Regions from separate parts of the Homo sapiens genome. Here regions 2 and 3 are each linked to region 1. The links are contacts of gene promoters, found by promoter capture Hi-C in human tissues and cell types (Jung and others, 2019). All regions are on one chromosome and are shown on one strand. The core of a region is centred on a gene start or on the middle of the fragment in contact, and the rest is flanking DNA. Distances in the headings are between cores, read along the strand shown.

What was found. The method cuts DNA at HindIII sites, captures the fragments that hold promoters and counts their contacts. A contact is called where the count stands out against the background at its distance.
Region 2: a contact is called between a fragment that was not itself captured here and the fragment with the promoter of CACNA2D1 in region 1, in 2 of the 25 tissues and cell types used here (H1 embryonic stem cells and spleen).
Region 3: a contact is called between a fragment that was not itself captured here and the fragment with the promoter of CACNA2D1 in region 1, in 3 of the 25 tissues and cell types used here (dorsolateral prefrontal cortex, heart left ventricle and mesendoderm cells).

Annotation. Positions count from the first base shown.
Region 1 is chr7:82,442,123-82,446,267 of GRCh38, reverse strand. It overlaps CACNA2D1 (calcium voltage-gated channel auxiliary subunit alpha2delta 1), which reads left to right and starts at 2,491. Exons shown (of 39, transcript NM_000722.4): 1 at 2,491-2,903. The coding sequence starts at 2,809. RefSeq lists an enhancer at 3,486-4,049. The HindIII fragment of the contact is 9,545 bases long and covers 1-4,145 here.
Region 2 is chr7:82,296,317-82,300,403 of GRCh38, reverse strand. All of the region lies in intron 3 of CACNA2D1 (calcium voltage-gated channel auxiliary subunit alpha2delta 1), which reads left to right. Among named protein-coding and RNA genes, the nearest start is that of CACNA2D1, 150 kb to the left of the region's middle. The HindIII fragment of the contact is 6,244 bases long and covers 1-4,087 here.
Region 3 is chr7:82,270,446-82,274,410 of GRCh38, reverse strand. All of the region lies in intron 3 of CACNA2D1 (calcium voltage-gated channel auxiliary subunit alpha2delta 1), which reads left to right. Among named protein-coding and RNA genes, the nearest start is that of CACNA2D1, 170 kb to the left of the region's middle. The HindIII fragment of the contact is 4,796 bases long and covers 1-3,965 here.

The sequences.
Region 1 (4,145 bases), core at 1,242-3,741:
TATTAAGATTAATGGGATATAATCTGATTTTAAGGGAATTTTCCAAAATAACAGAACTGAGCTGAAAAAATGCATTGTTATGGGTATAGTTAATCCAACAGAAACCTAATGCTATGTTATGGAAATGGTCTTCTTTTAGCTGTCATACATTTAAAAAAAAACCACATTTTGAATATCCTCAATAAGAAGGTTTAGATTGGTAAAAAGCAATTAATAGCAAACCTCGCAACAGAGTATTAAACAATGATTTAGGCTCACAGATGATAACCAACCCTTTCAGTAAGAATTGTAGAAGCAATATCTTTCCTCAACAGCTTCACATATTGGAGAACTCAGTGCTTCAACAGAGTGATCCAAAGAAATTGAGATTTGGCTCAAAGGCCAACAAAGTTAATAATAAAGGCTGACTTACCTTCTCTACAAGCTTATTACATTCTTTTATTCTTTAAGCCCTTTCTCCTAAAGATATAAAATTGGAAACAGTGTACCATAGTGGGAAGTCTGGAGTTGATGTTGAAATAATTGACAGAATATATAACAATGGTATTTTTAGGTAGTGAGGCTATTGATACCAACATATCACATAGACAATAATGGGCATCTCTAATTCTGCTCTTCTTAGTCCTCATGCTGGGGAAGAAAGTCTGCTTTTGAATTATTAAAAATGGAAGAAATGATGGATTTGACTATTTACTTATCTAATTTTGGAGTGGAATGCTATCTTCAGTTATATAAAATATCCCTCCTGAGCTGTAGTTCTCAATCCCATTACATCCCACTTCATCCCTCATTTGCGCAGCTCCTGCTGCCACAGTATCCATGCCTAGCATAAAACAAACTAAGTTAAGTCACGGTGGGGTGCCTTTTGTGAGGCCACTCAGAGTAGAAAGAAACAAAGAGCAAGACAGAGATGCGAAGAACATAAAGAAAACAAATAAGGCATTAAAAAAAGGAGAAATAAGTGGGAAGGAAAAATAAATTCACCAGGCTAAGCATCATAAAATCACACACGCTCTTAAAATTTGGCCAGTAATTAATAGTAGTAGTATTATTATTAGTCTTTGTTTTGGGAGATTGCCTTCAGAGAGCTGGAAAATTCATTTCGAATTAATAAGGGTCTTTTTCTTTCAGAAGCATCTCCTAAAAATAAGAACGGGCTAATTAAAAATCTGACAGCCACCCCGATACTTACAGAATTTTTGCATATGCAGGATAGTCATCACAAATTGTATTCTCTGCACGTCATGTCAAAAGTATTCTCATACACTACTAGAGGGAGCTTAAGAATTTAAGGTGTGCAAGAATATATTTCTATCTTTGGCCCACCAGGGCCCTCTTGTAGGAGGCCTGTGTTGGGCGGGAGAGGCCTAGTCGCAGACCCTGTCTTTTCAAGGAGAAAGCCCGCCACTGCTTCCTCTGAGTCTGGAGATAAAACCAGTCCGGCATTGCTACTCCCTAGCTCTCTCCCCCTCCCTTAATTCCTCCTCTACATTTCAGGCGCATTTCTCAGAGTGCCACCTGTTCCTGCTGCTTACCCTTTTCATGCCTTCGCATTGACAAAAGTGAGCTCACCCTGCGGTAACCTTGTCAGGCAGGGCAGGCCAGTGGCCAGAGCAGGGCGTTAGGACCCTTTTGGAGGTAGTCCCAACTGGGATGCTGCAAAGCGCTTCTCTTACTACTGTCCTCCCTAGATGCAGAATTCGTCCCTCCACCCCTCTGTCCAATGGAACCACAGGGCTGGGAAGATTTTACAGCGTCAGTACTTCTCTGTCCGTCCACAGCCCGGTCCCTGAGGCTCTGTCCTCGCCAGGTGAGCCGAGCAGTACCTGGGCGTGGGACCGCTGGCACAAAGGGCACCCAGCCCCGGCAGAGGCTCTAACCTATGGCACACGCGGGCATATAGTGCCACCTGGTAGAGAGTCAACAGTGGTGCTTTAAAATGCAATACAAACCCCTCCTACATTTGTTGTCAAATCACTTCACGATTCCCAGGCAGGCACTGGATTCTGCGCCTGGGAGTAGGGCTGGGGGGGAACGCTGCCTGCATGTGCAAAAATAACCCCCGAAGACGCGAGCCAAGTCCTGGGTTGGAGCCTCTGCAGCCTGTGGATGCCCGCTGGGCGGCTGGCCGTCCCCCGGGAGCCCCGCGGGGCTGGTCCGCTCCGCCTGCGCACGCCGGGCGGCGGGAGCGAGCCGGCGCCGACTTTGGGAGTTCCTGGCTGCCTTGTATGGAGGGCTGCTCCCGGCCCGTCTCCGCCCGACTGCTCTGACGCCCAGCCCTCCCGCTGCCCACCCCCAGCCGCCTCCCTCTGACTTGCCTAAGAAGCCAGACGGAGCCTCTCGCTTCCACAAGTCTCTCTGCCTGCCATTCCCCGATTCCTGCAGCCACCCCCACCCTCCAGCGCCGTCACCCCTCCTCCGCCCCCGCCCCCGCCTCCGCCTTCGCCTCGGCAATCGGGGGAATAAATCAGGGAGGAAACCGAGAGGGAGAGCGAGAGCGCGCGAGCGCCGGCGGGCTCGCCGAGGTCTGTTTCCAAAGTCGCCCTTGATGGCGGCGGAGGCAAGGCGGCCGCGGCGCGGAGCAGCCGACGCACGCTAGTGGGTCCGCCCGCCACCGCCCCTTCCTCGGCGTCCGCTCCCGCCCTTGCCGTCCCCCGCGCGGCTCCGCGCCTCGGGCCCCGGGCGCAGCCAGCCCTCCAGACGCCCGCGGTCCCGGCGGCGTGTGCTGCTCTTCCTCCGCCCGCGGTTTCCAGCGCCGCTCCTTCCCCCGCTTGGGCAGGGAGGGGGCATTGATCTTCGATCGCGAAGATGGCTGCTGGCTGCCTGCTGGCCTTGACTCTGACACTTTTCCAATCTTTGCTCATCGGCCCCTCGTCGGAGGAGCCGTTCCCTTCGGCCGTCACGTAAGTCGGCGGGCCGGGCAGGGAGCGCCGGCCGAGGGGCGCCGCGGGAGTTGGGGGTGGGGGTCGGTTCCCGAGTCGCGGGGCTTTTCCGCCCGTGGGGGTGGGGAGCGAGCGGCCGGGGAGCCAGGCTCGGATGCGGAGACGCCGGGCAGGCGGTGCGCGCCGCTCGCCGCTGGAATGCGTCCCGAACCGGCGTCTCGGGCGCCTCCACGGGGCCGGGCACTGGGGGCCGACTGTCCCGGGAAGCGCCCGCCGACGACTCGCGGCGTCTCAGCCCGTCTCTAACGGGATTCTCTAGACTTCAGAGTGCAGCCGTACTGGGGAAAAAAGTTTCCAGCCAGCTCACCCGCTCTGATTCAACCCAGTTCAATAAAAAGTTATGTTTTGGTTGGGTAATTTACAAACAGGTAATTTCAGGCTTGCCGAGGTAGCGTGGACTTCCCCCGCACTTGGCCTCGGAGATGCTCTTTAATTGCTGTAGTGCCCAAACTCGTTTTATCCCACGTTACTGGATGCACTTGACAGCCTTCCGATTAGACGCGTGCTGGCTCCCCGCGGCCGAGCGTGCTGTCCACGCAGGGGGCTCGCAGGTACTGGGACCACGCGATCCAACCTCCCCAACCCATTATTTGAAACATCTAAGTGTCGGCAGACACGCGGTCCCTGTTCTTCAAATGAATAGAGCCTATTCTTTGAAGGAGGGACTATTTCCAGTCTCCTACAAATTTTCTTTTATTTTTACCATTTCTAAAATAACTTTTAAAAACCTCGCTGCTGTTCTGGAAATAGAGGGCTTATAGGTAGCTATAGTCACACCACAGGAAGGGAATGAAAAATAATAATTCTCTCCTTTCTTAGCAAAATAGAATCAAACTCAATGGCACATATAAATATATACATATTTTTTAATGCACCGAATAGCCTATCCGGCATTCTGGGAAAGCATTTATTTTGGTTCTTGGAGCTTCTTTAAAGCTTCTAAAGGTAGGTAATCTTAAGTGGATGAGTCACTTTAATGCATTTTACATAACAAAAACAAAGCCCAAGGTAGCTTTCCCGGTATTTATGCTGCTGGGAATTACTTGCTGTCCTTTGTTGGCTGAGTGCTGAATACAGGAGTTTTTGGTGGAAAGTAACAGTGAATCTTTAGCGGTTGAAATCCTGCGGCTATTATTTAAGATTCAGTTTTAAGTATTTATTACCTTAGGTGTCAGTGCAAGAATCTGGAGGATGCACATTCTA
Region 2 (4,087 bases), core at 1,144-3,643, 150 kb after region 1:
ATTCTTTTACGTATAAAATATTATTCATTTAAAATGGTATCTGTAATCCTATTAAGGGCTATGAGTCCTTCTATGATCTAGTTTGTCCTTTCCTTTCTGATTTAATTCCTCTTTACCCATTACAATGCTTCAGTCCACAGGCCTTCTTTATCTTTATTGCTGTCTGAGAGTATTTGCACATTCTGTTCCCTTTACTTAAAAAAAAAATTCCCTAACTTCGTGCTTTATTTACTTTTTCTTTCTTTACCTTAGGTCTCAGTGTGAAGATCAAAATAGCCTGCTTGACGATGTTGTTTAAATCAGACACCCACCCCTATTGTTATTCTGAATGAGAGACACCTACCTGTATTATCTTCAGAGCAATGATCACAGATCGGTCATGATTCAAGTTTTTGTTTGTTTCATTGTCTCCTAACTGGTAAAATCCATACGCGCCCATTTCAGTTCATATTTATCTTCATACCTGTTGGGCCTAACATCGTTCCTGATATATAGTGGGTGTTCTATAAATATTTACTGAATGAATAAGTTGGTTAATGAGTAAAATATAGGTTTTTTCCCTTTATAAGCTCTCTAATATTTTCTGATTTTCTATAATCCTATTAATTTAGGGCTGTAGAAATCAATTATGTTTATCTGATTGCTACTCATATAATAAAACTGAAGTTTGAAAGATGTGATAGTGAAGTGAAGACACTTTGAAATTATGCATTCTACTCTCATCTAACTTTTTTTTTTTTTTTTGAGATAGAGTCTTGCTCTGTTGCCTAGGCTGGAGTGCAGTGACATGATCTCAGCTCAGTGTAACCTCCGCCTCCCAGGTTCAAGTGATCTTGTGCCTCAGCTTCCCCAGTAGCTGGGACTACAGGTGCCTACCACCACGCCTGGCTAATTTTTGTATTTTTAGTAGAGATGGGGTTTCACCATGTTGGCCAGGCTGGTCTCGAACTCCTGACCTCAAGTGATCTGCCCACTCCTGCCTCCCAAAGTGCTGGGATTACAGACGTGAGCCACCGCACCCAGCCATTCTCATCTAACTTTTTAAGTAAAACTATCTTCACTGTTCTTTCTGAGAAAATGCTGATTGCAAAATACCCAAAACAATAATGAGAAAGTAAAAGTTTCCACTTTAACCTACTTTCTCCCTAAAACCCCCCAAAACAAACAAAAAAACCTACTGAGAATAATTTGGTATATGATCAACTTTCATTTTGTACATAGTATGTCTTTAATGTTAACAACATGTTTGTATGATAAGCAGAGAATTTTTTTTTCCCAATTAACCAGGTGAGTAAAAAATGACTTGGTATTTACTATTATTTTTACTTTTTTTTTTTTTTTTTGACAGAGTCTCGCTCTTTTCACCCAGGCTGGGTGCAATGGCGTGATCTCAGCTCACTGCAGCCTCTGCCTCCCCGGTTCAAAGGATTCTCCTGCCTCAGTCTCCCGAGTAGCTGGGATTACATGCACCCGCCACCACGCCCGGCCAATTTGTGTACTTTTAGTAGAGACGGGGTTTCACCATATTGGCCAGGCTGGTCTTGAACTCCTGACCGCAGGTGATCCGCCCACCTCGGCCTCCCAAAGTGCTGAGATTATAGGCGTGAGCCACTGTGCCCGGCCTATTTTTACTTATTAATTGAATTATATGTACATAAACTTGCCTCATTAGACATTTGGAGCTGGGTGTGGTAGCATGCGCCTATAGCCCCTGCTACTCAGAACACTCAAGCCTAGGAGTTAGAGGCTGAAGTGTGCCTGTGAAAAGCCATTGCTTTCCAGCATGGGCAACATAGTGAGACCCTTGTCTCTTAAAAAAAAAAAAAAGACATTTGCACTCTTTTTAAAAATAAATTTCATAGTATGATTGAACTATAAATATGAAATTTAAAGTAAAGAAAGGAAACTTATTCATAAGTTCTGGTCACCAATTTTAAGTAAAGAGAGTAAATACGGTCATTCAGATGTTAACAATATTATAGAAAAGAATGGAAAACCTGGATTATGTTTCTGAAATATATAAGCTTAGAAGAAGAAAGAAGACAGTGGAATCTCAGATGACTTCATAATGCCACTCTGTAATGTTATCTTTTAGTGGCAGTTACAGTTCTAGTCCTTTTATATATACTAGTACACTCAGAAATCAAAGAACTGGGTGGTAGATGGGAATGTCTGCATTGCCCTGGGATTCCCTATTGGTGGAAAACATTTACATGATACTAGTTTTTAGAGTCATTATTTGCTACTGGAGCATTTTAAAAATTCATACTAAATATTACTCAATAATTACCAGTCGGTGTGTATAATTCTACAATAGCTGCAAACATTTTTGTATTGAAGAGTTTTTGAATAACATTTTCTAGTTAGTGATGTATTTCATAATAATTTTGTTTTAATATATTTAATGAGGAAAGGTTTTTAAAAAATTATTAAAATTTCAATTTTACTCTACTTGATTCTAATTAAAACCACCCCTTGGCAATAAATTCTGCTTCTTATATATCCGTATTACAAGAAAATAATTGAGGAAACTTAAGGTTGTTTCTTGTTTATGAAGGTGGATGAATACATAATTATTTATTAAGATTGCTTATTAGTCGTTTTGTTTTATAGTAAAATCTTTATTAACAGCCTCCAGCATCTGAAATATAATACATTCCCAAGAAAATGTGCTATATAGAATAAGCTGGCCAATGTTATAAGGCACAGATATTGGTAAAGACTACAACTACATTAAAAAGGCTAAAGGTGATCTCAGGAATAAAAACGTAGCCATTGTATCCTAGAATTCTGTTTGTTCATTTGTTTAATAGAAACCCTTTTTATTCTATAATTACAATGACTTTTTTACAAAAATTTTTTTTGAAAAGGAATGTTGACTCTGCTAGTCTACAAATTGTATACATTCTTTCTATTGTGCAACAGCATTGGTAATATTAGAAGAAACACACTTCTAATTATGTGAAGTTACCAACTGAAAACAAGTGATAGCTTGCCATTCAACATCTCCCCCCACAAAGGAAGTATTAACAGGTGTGGTATCTTAGTATTAGCTGCCAGGAGACATTCATGTTACAGATCAATGATCAAGATTGTTGTTATACTATTAAATAGGGTAATACATTTTAATGTGAGTTTTTTCTATTTGTTTATTTTTTGAGACAGGGTCTCTGTTGCTCAGGCTGGAGTGCAGTGGCACGACCTTGCTCACTGCAGCCTCAGCCTCCTGGGCTCAAGGGATTCATTCACCTGCCTCAGCCACCTGATTAGCTGGGGCTATAGATGTGTGCCACCATACCTGGCTAATTTTTTTTTTTTTTTTTTTTTTTTTGGTAGACACAGAGCCTCACTATGTTTCCCTGGCTGGTCTCCAACTCCTGGACTTAAGCGATCTTCCCACCTCCGCCTCCCATAATGCTGAGATTACAGGCATAAGCCACCACTCCCCGCCAATATGAGTTTTTACTAATGAGAAATAATAGTATCCTAAACCCTGACATTTAAAATGATTTTTGCAGATACATAGGCAGTCACCAACTACATGCATAAATCCTTTTAATTTTAAATCTCATAGATTCTTATTTATTGAATGCCAACTATTTGCTAGGCTCCTACAGGTTGGAGTGGCAAAAATTCATATTCACCTACATATGCAATTAATCAGAATACTATATAACAAATGAAATCATAAAGAATGTCCACATACAGTGGTAATACATAGGAGAGAATGATTAACTCTGTTTTGTTGTGGGATGGCATGGGGTCAGGGAATGCTATAGCTGCATTTTAAATCAGTCCATACTGAAGTGAATAGGAGTTTAACAGATAGCTTTAAAAGGAGACATACAACTTGTTTAAATAAAATGTGCAATTAAGCATCTTGGGTCTAAATTTCTCTAAAATCCTTCCTGCTATTCTAAGAGGTTTATAATTAGGTGTCTTTCTGCTAATTAATTGCAGTAGCATAAAGCTTCACTTACTTGTAACAGCTATAGTGCCCAAGGCTGCAAAATTTTAGCAGACACATTGAGCTAACTGATTCGGATGTCAGAAATGCTCTGAGATGTTAATCCCATTTTAAAGGGGT
Region 3 (3,965 bases), core at 491-2,990, 170 kb after region 1:
AACCAAGACAGGCAAGTTTCCAGATGGTAATTTTATGTTTACAAATTAAAGTAAATATGCAATAAAGAAAATAATAGACTTTTTATAGTATAAAAGTACTGAGAAGATTGGAAATCTGGGAAACATAGTTTTTAATGTATTGCCAAGGCAGGCTGCTTTGAATTTGGTGGTCAAAAGATACTCTCAGTGACTGGAGAGGAAGATACAGTCGTGAGAGGAGCCATGAGAAGATGTGAAAATGCCATTCTAGGAAAAGGAGGGGTTAGTGCGCAGGCTCTGTGACAGAGGGAGCTGTTTGAGTTCCAAGATCAGGAGGGTCACTGTGGTTGGAGCTTAATGAGCAAGTGCGAGAGTATATAAGGAGAGTTCAGAGGGGTAGCCAGGGGTCAAATGACATATGGTCTTCTAGAACAGCAGTCACAGTGTGTTACAATGACTGGGATTATTTTCTTCAGTAGAAAAATTACATTCTCATTGTTAAGAAACTGATAATATGGGTAAGTGCAAAGTAGAAAATGAAGCATATTCTTAATTCTACACCCAGGTATAAATATTATTAACATCGAGAAGCTTTTATTTTCATTCTTCTTTCTATTCTTACATAATCACGTGCACCTGTATGCAGGCGCAAATACATCTGCACACTTATGCATGCATACGCACACAACTTTTATTAAATTGGAATTATACCCTTCATTTGCAATTAATATATTCAGAATGTTTTCCTATTTCATCAAATATAAAAATGAAATAAAATAATCCAGGCATGGTAGGGTGCTCCTGTGGTCAAAGCTACTTGGGTAGCTGAAGCAGGAGGATCACTTGAGGCCAGGAGTTCAAGGCCTCAGTGTGCTATGATCACATCTGTGAATAGCTACAGCCCAGGCAACATAGCAAGATCCTGTTTCTAAAAATAATAATAAAATAGAAAATATTATATTATAGAGAAGATATACAATAATACATAATAAATAATATATAAAATAGAATCATAATGGCAACATCGTATGTATATGCCAGTACCTATGACTAATTTAGAAGAACTCCAGTTTTTAATACCACAAATATCAATCCTGTAAACATTTTTATATAGAAATAGATGTACAAATTTCTTATTTCCTTAGCATAAATTCTCAAAGTTGAGCTATATCAAAAGGTATATTATTATTATTTAAAAACTATGAATAGAGCTTGCCAGATTATCCATCTGGAATTGTTTAGCAGTTTATGATAGTGTGTTTCTATCTCCTCTTCAATATTGGATATTATTTTTTAGGCAACGAAGTTGGTAGATAACAAATGGCATCTCACTTTTATTTTATTTATTTAACTTTATTTTGTGATTTTATTTAGAACATAATATCAAAGTTGTTTATTAGTTAGTAGTATTAGTTCTTTATTGGTACGTTTCCTTATTGCTACATATAATGAATTACCTCAAAATAAAGTGGCTTAAAATAACAAATATTTCTGATCTCATAGTTTCCATGGGTCAGGAAATTAGGAGTGGCTTACCTGAATGAGTCTTTCTCAGGCTTTCTTAGGTGGTGCTTCTCTGATGGCTTACCTGGTGCTGCAAGATCTACTTTTTAAATTTTCACTGTGCACATTTTTTTTGAAATGAAGAAAACAATGTTATTTATAATAGCAACAAACGGAAACATTCAGAAATAAGTTTACCAAAAGAAGTACTAGGATATTACGCTGATTTTTGAATTTTCTTAGTAGTACCTTTATTCTTTTGTTTTCAGAAGATCCACTTCTAAGGTGGTTTGTATACATGGCTATTGGCAGGAGACCTCAGTTCCTTGCCACTTGGGCTTCTTTCCACAACACCTAACCATGGTAGCTAACTTCCCCAACAGTGAGCAATTCAAGAAAGTACAAGGAGGGATTCACATTACCTTTTACAACCTAGTTTCTTACGTTGCGTGCTATCCTTTCTACTTTATGCTATTTGTGAGAAGTGAGTTGCTGTATCCAGCCGACCACTTGAAGGAAGATGTATCAAATTTGTAGACATATGTTTAAGCCACTACAGTAATTTTTTCCAGCTTCTCACTGGCATATTAGAGGGTGTTGAACACATGACTACAACTATTATTACTATTGGATGACTGATGCCGCCACTGGACTACCTATAGTACAAAAGTTCCTCAATAAAGGCTATTTTATATTTTTGTCATATATTCCAATACTCTTGCTGTCAGAATTCTTCCTTTCTAAAAGCTGGAATACTACAATTTAGATTCTATTTATGTTTTATAGAATATCTGTCTTTTAGAGATTATATTGAGAGAAAAAAATCTGTCAGAAGTTTTCTCTCATAAATTACTCATTTTGGGTTTCTGCTTAATTGAGCTTTGACTTCTGTAAATTTATTTTTCCTTTTTTTTAGTAATGTTTAGATTGCTAGTCCATTATCTACTGTCTAGGATTATAAATATTGTTTATTTTGAAAAAGTTGAAATAGATTCAGGAAGAAGAAAGTGATTATTAGAGTTTTCCATTGTAATTAGCTGCTTTCCTGGTCTAGCCATTTATCCATCATCTATTGTCTATGATTATAAATATTATTTATTTTGAAAAAGTTGAAATCGATTCAGGAAAGAGGAAAATGATTATTAGAGTTTTCCATTGTAATTAGCTGCTTTGCTGGTCTAGCCATTTACCTTACTCTTGATGCCTGTTTATCTCCTTGGCTCTAATTAATAACTGTGCATCTAAAGCTTATTTTTTCTCAACTTCCAAATAGAAATAATAAAACAACGTACTATTTTTCACACACAAAAGGGAGAATATATTTATTCAAAAATATGGCATGATGATATGCTTTGTTAATGGTGGTGGTATTGATGATAGTCTGAGAACCACAATCAATAAATTAGAAATTAGCAAGCATGTGTGAAATTTGACAAGTGATAATGGGTTCATTTGTGGATGGTAGAAAATGAATACAATTATAATTAAAAATGTTCTATTTTAATGAAATAACTATATATTTAGATGATAAAGGAAATAAAATTTGATAAAGAATCAAGAGAATTTATTCATTTACTGCATGTAGGGGAGAAATAAGAGTAAAAATGAATGACTCAGGTCTTCAGATTGAATGACTGTGTACATCATGGTATTTGGACTAGAGGGGATCTAGTTTCTAGAGAAAGTGGTACTTTTCTTTTCTACATGATGAATTTGAGGTGATGGTAGACTCTATTGCTGTAGCTGTCGAACAGCAAATGGAATTAGAAGATTGACACTTCTGAGAGAGAGGATGGTAGTGGATATGTACTTTCATTTAGGTGACAATTGACATGAAAAAAGCCAGAGCAGAGGCCTGAATCTGGGGTTAAAACACTGTATTTATAGAGTGGAAGAATGAAATAGAGCCAGAGTCTCATGGGAATTATGACACTCATTTGTCATCTGATGCAGCACAGGAATGAGTTTGGATAAAGAAGTAGTTTGTAGTTAAATAAGGAATACAGTTCAAGAAAGATGATTATGGAGAAAATACAGTTAGCTTGAAATGGGACATAAGAGTAGTTAGACAAAGGACATAATGAAATAAGTTAAACAATGAGTGAAATCCAAAGAAGTGGTTAATAGGAGTTTGGTAATGACGACTTTGAAAGAGTCTGTGTAGAAATTTACTAGAATGACCACAACTTAAAAAACAAGAATTAAAATTTGGATAGAAGAGAGGAGCTAGCATATGGAGAAACTGGAACTTAAATACATTAGATGTGTGGATATCCATTTCACAGAAACCACTTTGGAAAATTCTTTGGCAGTACCTACCCTACAATCCAGCAATTTCTAGGATATTTCCAACAGAAATGAATACATGTCTCCCAACAGATACACATTTTTATTCACAATAGTCCTTAACTGGAAACAACCCAAATGTCCTTTAACGAAAGATTGGATAAATAAACCGAGGTGTATACATACACAGAAAACTG